Regions from separate parts of the Homo sapiens genome. Here region 2 is linked to region 1. Evidence: promoter capture Hi-C in human tissues and cell types (Jung and others, 2019). All regions are on one chromosome and are shown on one strand. The core of a region is centred on a gene start or on the middle of the fragment in contact, and the rest is flanking DNA. Distances in the headings are between cores, read along the strand shown. Region 1 holds the start of EML3 (EMAP like 3). Region 2 has its middle 14 kb from the start of RAB3IL1.

What was found. The method cuts DNA at HindIII sites, captures the fragments that hold promoters and counts their contacts. A contact is called where the count stands out against the background at its distance.
Region 2: a contact is called between a fragment that was not itself captured here and the fragment with the promoter of EML3 in region 1, in 1 of the 25 tissues and cell types used here (dorsolateral prefrontal cortex).

The regions. Positions count from the first base shown.
Region 1 is chr11:62,610,526-62,614,422 of GRCh38, forward strand. It overlaps EML3 (EMAP like 3), which reads right to left and starts at 2,250. Exons shown (of 22, transcript NM_153265.3): 1 at 1,911-2,250; 2 at 900-1,071; 3 at 562-819; 4 at 354-467. The coding sequence starts at 1,932. It overlaps ROM1 (retinal outer segment membrane protein 1), which reads left to right and starts at 2,732. Exons shown (of 3, transcript NM_000327.4): 1 at 2,732-3,346; 2 at 3,733-3,897. The coding sequence starts at 2,757. RefSeq lists enhancers at 775-1,333, 1,334-1,893, 2,667-2,726 and a silencer at 1,737-2,616. The HindIII fragment of the contact is 22,621 bases long and covers 1-3,897 here.
Region 2 is chr11:61,930,001-61,933,897 of GRCh38, forward strand. It overlaps a transcript of RAB3IL1 not described here. Among named protein-coding and RNA genes, the nearest start is that of RAB3IL1, 14 kb to the left of the region's middle. The HindIII fragment of the contact is 6,912 bases long and covers 1-3,897 here.

The DNA.
Region 1 (3,897 bases), core at 1,000-3,499:
GTAGTGGAAAGGGTAGGGGAACTGGAGTCAGGAAGAGTTAGGTTCAAATCCTGACTCTAGCTGTGTGACCCCAGGCAAATGACTTACCCTCTCTGAGCCTGCTTCCTCACCTGTGCAATGAGCAGCATGAGACCACCTAACCCCCAAGGATGTTGTGGGGACTGACTGAGATGGAGGAGGTCGAGGGTTTAGCACAGTGCCCGGTACACAGCAGGCGCCCCAGAAGTGTTTGTTTCTTTATTCCTGTTGGGCAATCAGGTCCCCCCACCCCAACCAGGGATGTGAGGTGAGGGATATGGAAAGTCGAGAGCCTGCGCCTGGGGCGGGGTGGGTTGAGGGGAAGCCTCACCCACCTCTCTGTGCTCCCGGACCGCACTAACAGGTTGGCGGAGGAGATTGCCTTCCTGGAGAGCTTCTGCCGAGGCCGCTCTGAGGGGGATGAGGAGGAGGAAGAATTTCTTCGCGGCCTGGTGGGGGCATAGTGAAGGTCATTCCCTCCAACTGTACTCTGCAATCCTACCACCCCTCCCAGCTTCCGCCACAGGGCCACAGGACACCTACGTGTCAGCACGCTGTGGGGGCTGCAAGGGCCTGAGGATCCCCGGGGGGCCAGGGGAGCCAGCACCACTGCTGCTGCTGCCCCCTCCTTCAGATTGGGTCCCGCTAGGCTCTTCGCTGGCCCCCTGAGGGGCTGGGGGTCCATTGCTCAGGCCAGGGGGTCCAGGGGATGACTTGAGCTCCACCTCTGTCTCCGTCTGGGTGCCTCGGCTCACCAAGGAAGGGGTGCACGTGGGTGGCAGTCCTGGGGGGGCTGCAAGACTGCTGGAGAGATGTTGAATTAACCTGAAGCCCCAGAGGCCCCAAGGAGGAGGAAAAATGGGGTGTGATGACATGCATACCTGTCCCCCGGAGGAGCTGGTGTGCCAGAGCCCTGCAGGGAGGAAGGGGGCACCTGCAGCCGCAGCAGGCGAAGGGCTTCTGCCAGGGCTGCCTTTACCAGTTCCATCTCCTGCTCCTGCACCCGAAGCCGCTGGCTCAGAGACTGGAGGGCCTCCCGAGCAGGGCCGTCACCTGGGAAAAGGGCAAGAGGTACTCAGAATGTACCCATCACCTGAAGAAAGCGTAGAGGGGATTCTGTCTCCCCACAACTTTACATGTGTCCGGTAGGACTGCCCCTTTCAGGCAGCCCCAGGCTTGAATGCTCGTCCAGAGGGGAGGAGACGGTGGTAAAGGATCAAGGGCCTCCTTCTGGCAGGGCAGGCGAGAAACCTGGCAAAGCTCCCTTCCTGCTGCCGTCTCAGCCTCCGCAAAGACTGGGAGTACCATGGAGTACCGGGGGGGAAATATGGAGTACTGCCGAGGAACGTGGGAGCCACAGAGAGAGGCGCCGCACTGGTGAGGGCAGGGACCGCAGCCCTCCCCACGCGCCCCCAGCAAGCTCAGGTCTCCAGCGAAAGCTGAGTAACTGAGCCGGGGGAACACCAGGAGAGAGAACGGGGTGCGGGAATGGAGTCATACTGAGGACCCAGAGTACAAGAAAAGAGATCCAGAGTGACAGGAGAGAGTGTGAGTGGTGAGCAGAGTCACAGTGAAGGTCTCAGGGGGCAGTGGGGATCAGAAGGAAAAAGACCTGAAATACCACGAGAAGAGGCCCGGAGTAACGCAGGGGGCAGGGAAACATCGAGGGGCCCGGAGTTACGTGGGGCGTAGAATGACGCTGGGGAAGCCCGAAGTGACAGCAAGACCCAAGCAACTAGGGAGGGCGACCGGAGGAACTGTGGAGGATGCTCGGAGCCCCTGGGGCGGAGGAGCACGCGGGGACGCCTCCAGACAGCCGTCCAGCTCTGGCATAACCCGACGAGCCGGGCGCTCCGGGAAGGGGCACGCCGCCCGCCCCGCCCCGTACTCACCGGGCCCCGCGGCCCCGTCCATCCGGCCCCCGGGTTGCTCCGAGCGGCGGCGGCGGAGGAGGCGTCTAAGCCGCGGGGGCCACGGCCGGGGAGAGGGGAAGGGGAAGCACCCCGGGGCGCGCGCGAAGGGCGCCGTACCACCACCCCGAGGGGGCGCTGTCGGGCGCGGGGAAGGGGCCTGGAGGGGGCGCTGTGGGCCCGGGGCCGCAGTCTCCAGACCCCCCCGGGCCCTCGGACTCTCCCGGGGCCGCTCTCGGCTCCCGGGGGTGGGGTGGCAGGGCCGTCCGGTGCCACAGCGCCGCAGCACAAACAGGCGCCGGACGCGGAGCCGCCAGGAAGCGCGGGAGGGGGGGCGGGCCCGAGGGGGGGCCGGGCCGCTTGGTAACCCCTCCCTGTCCGGGCCTCGCCGCTCAGTACGGGGGCGGGGCTAGCCGGCTGACCCCCTGGCCTACTCCCGGCCTCCGGCTCCAGGCCCTTCCCGGATCCCCGCCCCCGGATTCCCAGGGGACGGGGAAGGGAGCGCCCGCCCCGATATCTCCGCCCCCCAGCCCCTAACCCCTCAGGGTTGAGCGGACCAACCCCACCACTTCCGCGAGGGGCAGGGGCGGGGTCACAAAACGGGCCCTCGGCCTAGGGGCGGAGTTTCTCGTAAGGGGCAAGGCCAAGGCATCTTGTATTGGGGCTGACAGGGGGGCGGGTTATTAGGGCTGAGGATGGGAGGATGCTCAGGGTATTGGGGTCAGGGTGGCATTAGCCCAGCTCAAGCCGGGCCGGGCTGACTCAGCATCCTGCCCCAGCCAGCTTCCATCCCTGACACCTCTGCATTCCCTTGGGCAGAGATGGGAGATGGCGCCGGTGTTGCCCCTGGTGCTGCCCCTGCAGCCCCGCATCCGCCTGGCACAAGGGCTCTGGCTCCTCTCCTGGCTGCTGGCGCTGGCTGGTGGCGTCATCCTCCTCTGTAGTGGGCACCTCCTGGTCCAGCTAAGGCACCTTGGCACCTTCCTGGCTCCCTCCTGTCAGTTCCCTGTCCTGCCCCAGGCTGCCCTGGCAGCGGGCGCGGTGGCTCTGGGCACAGGACTAGTGGGTGTAGGAGCCAGCCGGGCAAGTCTGAATGCAGCTCTATACCCTCCCTGGCGAGGGGTCCTGGGCCCGCTGCTGGTGGCTGGCACGGCTGGTGGGGGGGGGCTCCTGGTCGTCGGCCTCGGGCTAGCCCTGGCTTTGCCTGGGAGTCTGGATGAGGCGCTGGAGGAGGGCCTGGTGACTGCCTTGGCTCACTACAAGGACACAGAGGTGCCTGGGCACTGTCAGGCCAAAAGGCTGGTGGATGAGCTGCAACTGAGGTACCACTGCTGCGGGCGCCACGGGTACAAGGATTGGTTTGGGGTCCAGTGGGTCAGCAGCCGTTACCTGGATCCCGGTGACCGGGATGTGGCTGAGTGAGTGATTTGCGTCTCCCTTCCTCCTCCTCCTCCTCCCTGGACAGGCTCCCTCCTGCTGCCTTGAATCCCCACCTCGCTCAGAGGGGCAATAAGTAGAACATAGTGGCTGAGAGACTGGTTACAGCTCTGCCATTTATTAGCTGTGAAACCCAGGGCATGTTACCAAACCACCCTGGGCCCATTCCTTCACCTGTAAAATGGAAATAATAGTACTTATCTGATAGAGTTGTTGTGAAGATGTGAATTATGCTTGGCTGGCACATAGTACAGCAGTCAGTAAATGTTTTACTATTCTTTTTCCCTTCTGAACACCTGTGCCCTTCAGTCCCTCCCCCAGGCCTCTATCTCCAGACATCCTAACCCCTCTGTCCCTCCCTTTGCAGCCGGATCCAGAGCAATGTAGAAGGCCTATACCTGACTGATGGGGTCCCTTTCTCCTGTTGCAACCCCCACTCACCCCGGCCTTGCCTGCAAAACCGTCTTTCAGACTCCTACGCCCACCCCCTGTTCGATCCCCGACAACCCAACCAAAACCTCTGGGCCCAAGG
Region 2 (3,897 bases), core at 589-3,088, 680 kb before region 1:
CCCTGCCTCGGCCTCCTAAGTAGCTGGGACTACAGGCGAATGCCACCACCATGCCCGGCTAATCTTTGTGGTTTTAGTAGAGGCAGGGTTTTGCCACGTTGCCCAGGCTGGTCTCAAACTCCTGGGTTAGAGTGATACACCTGCCTCAGCCTCCTGAAGTGCTGGGATTACAGGCATGAGCCACCACTCCCAGCCAAGCATAGACTTATAAGGTCTATGAAATCAAGAATAGAAAATAGAGAATGGAGGGGAGGTGATATTTGTTTAATGGGTATGGAGTTTCATTTGGGAAGATAAAAAATGTTCTAGAGATGGATAATGGTTGCACAACAATGGGAATGTAATTAATGTCACTAAACTATATACTTAAAAATGTTCAAAATATTTTTTAAAAAGGCATATTTGACCACCTAAGCATAAGGATATGGAAAGGGTGAGCTTGAAAAAGTTACACCAAAAGCAAGGTGGTATTTCTGCATTAATAACCAAACTTTAAGACGAATCATGGTGAATTATGCATGTAATCCCAGCACTTTGGGAGGCTGAGAAGGGAGGATCACTTGAGCTCAGGAGTTCAAGACCAGCCTGGGCAACATGGGGAGACCCCATCTCTACAAAAAATCAAAAATTAGCCAGGCGTGGTGGTGCAGGCCTGTAGTCCCAGCTACTTGGGAGGCTGAGGCAGGAGGATCACTTTAGCCTGGGAAGTCAAGGCTGCAGTGAGCTGTGATCATGCCACTGCACTCAGTCTGGGCAACACAGCAAGACCCTGTCTTAAAAAGACCAAATTAATAACAAACTTTAAGACGAAAAACATTATTAGTGTAGAGGTGGTCACTATGCAGTAATAATAAAGTGATGACAATGTTTAAAAAAAATTCACCAGATAGATATAACCATCTAAATTAATATGTGCCTAATAAAATAGCCTAAAATATTTAAAGCAAAAATAATTAAAGCTACAGGGGAAAATAGACACATCTATCATTATGGTGTGAGATGTCAACAAATGTCTCTGAACTACGGCTACATCAAGGCAGCAAAACATCAGGAGCTGGTGGCAGCAGAGACCACTGGCCTTGGTAGTAACTGAAGTATAGAGCACTAGATCAAAGCGAACCGATAAGCAATTTGATCCCTAGGTCCCCTCCTCTACTCCATGCCACTGGCCAACTGCCCCTTTCTTAGTCTAGCATAACACTGGAGATTTATTCTCTGGAGAAGGCAAAACAGAAGGTCTTTGGGCCAGTAGCTGAATAAGAGGGTTAAGTGATTATATACACACTGAAATCCAAGACCTCCAACCCTCTTCTGTCACTTGTCAGCCAAAGTGGCAACTCACTCAGTCACCAGGAGGGTAAAGACAGACTTTTACCCTCCAGACAGCCCCTCTATGGGACTCTGGCCAACCCAAGAAGAGAGATCTAAGACGAATGTTACCCAACAAAATATCCATCCAGCTCAAAGTCAACATGCTTGCCATCAGTTTTTAAGATCTCGCTCTTAATAATGAGCAATCAAGGATTATTAGACAACTAAGGAGAACCTCTACCTTAAGAGAGACCAAACCCAGTAAGCAGAAGAAAAGCAACTTGCAGGAAACAGAGACTCTGTAGAAAAAAGAAGAGGAGGTGAAGAGGAGGAGGAGGAGAAGGAAGGCAAGGAGGAGGAAGAAGGAGAGGCATTAATAACCTCAGGATGAGAAAAGAAGGTATTGCATTCATGAAATAATAACCTGATTCTATGAAAGTAAACATTCACAGAACAACAAAAACTATTGGAAAATAATATATTTTTTAAAAGCATGATGGTAGAAATGAAAACAATGAGTAAGGTTGGAAGACACAGTTGAGGGAATATCCTTCAGAAAGAAAGAAATGGAAAATAGTGAAAAGATTAGAAAAGTAGAGAATCAATTTAGAAGATTCAATATCTGAATAAAGAAGCAACAGAAGAAAATGAATGAACTGGCCAGGCATGGTGGTTCACACCTGTAATCCAAGCACTTTGGGAGGCTGAGGCAGGCAGATCACAAGGTCAGGAGTTTGAGACCATCCTGGCTAACATGGTGAAACCCCGTCTCTACTAAAAATACAAAAAATTAGCTGGGCGTGGTGGCGGGCGCCTGTAGTCCCAGCTACTCGGGAGGCTGAGGCAGGAGAATGGCGTGAACCCGGGAGGTGGAGCTTGCAGTGAGCCGAGATCTCACCACTGCACTCCAGCCTGGGAGACAGAGCGAGACTCTGTCTCAAAAAAAAAAAGAAAAGAAAATGAAGGGGGTAAAGCATCAAATAAATAATTCAAGATTATTTCCCAAAACTGAAGTATATGAGTTTTCAAATTGAAAAAGACCACCTTAGCTGGACATGGTGGCTCACATCTGTAATCCCAGCACTTTGGGATTCTGGTTTATAAAAAAATTAGTGTTATACTGTAAGATTTTTTATTTGCTTATATCAGTCTTCAAAAATATCCATTTTAATAGTTCATTCATTCAGCAGTTATTTGTTTGGTATTTCTTTGCCTGACAGTCACTCTTCCAGGCACAGGGTGTATAGCAATGAGCAAAACAAGGCCCTGCCCTATGAGGTTTACATTCTAAGCTTTATAGGGCTTACAATGTAATAAAAGACATTAAAAAGAAATAAAAGACATAAATAAAAGAGAAATCAAAGACATAAATAGAAAATAGTGATAAAGTCTTCTAGAACTTTTTTTTAACTCAACATTATATCCAAGACTTACCTTATTTTATGTAACTATAGTTCATTTTTTTTTTTTTTTTTTTTGAGACGGAGTCTCACTCTATCGCCCAGGCTGGAGTGCAGTGGCACAATCTCAGCTCACTGCAACCTCTGCCTCCAGGTTCACGCAATTCTCCTGCCTCAGCCTCCTGAGTATCTAGGATTACAGGCTTGCACTACCATGCCCAGCTAATTTTTGTATTTTTAGTTGAGACAGGATTTCACCATGTTGGCCAGGCTGGTCTCAAACTCCTGACCTTGTGATCTGCCTGCCTCAGCCTCCCAAAGTGCTTGGATTACAGGTGTGAACCACCATGCCTGGCCAGTTCATTCATTTTTATTGCTGTATAATATTCCATGATAGGACCATAACTGTGGTAGGATAAAAATGGCCTCTCAAAGATATTGAATCCTAATCTTTGAAAACTGTAAATGTTACCTTATATGAAAACAGAGTCTGTAAAGATGTAATTAAGTTAAGGACCGTGAGATGGGGAGATTATTCCAAATTATTGGAGTAGACCCTAAATGCAATCACATGTATCCTTATAAGAGGGGGGCAGAAAGAGATCTGACACAGACAAAAGAGGAAAAGGCACAAGATGGAGGAGTGTTGTGGCCAAAAGCCAAGGAGTGCTGGCAGCCACCAGGAGCTGAAAGAGACAAGAGAGCCTCCAGAGGGAGCATAGATCTACTGACATCTTGCTTTAGGCCCAGTAATACTGATTTTGGACATCCTGGCCTCCCGAATGGTGAGAAAATAAGTTTCTGTTGTTTAGAGTCACGTAGTTTGTGATAATTTGTTACAATTATCATTAAAAAAAGTAATGCAGATTTTGGAACCAAGAGTGGAGTGCTGCTGTAACCAAAACCTAAAAATGTGGAGGTAGCTTTGGAATTGGGTAATGAGTAGAGACGAAGAATTTTGGGGAGCATGACAGAAAAAGCCTAGGTTTCTTTGAACAGATTGTTAGTAAAAATATGGATATTGGCTGGGTGTGGTGGCTCACGGCAACATGGCGAAACCCTGTCTCTACTAAAAATGCAAAAATTAGCTGGGCATAGTGGTGTGTGCCTGCAGTCCTAGCTACTAGGAAGGCTGAGGCAGGAGAATCACTTGAACCCAAGAGGTGCAGGCGGCAATGAGCCAAGA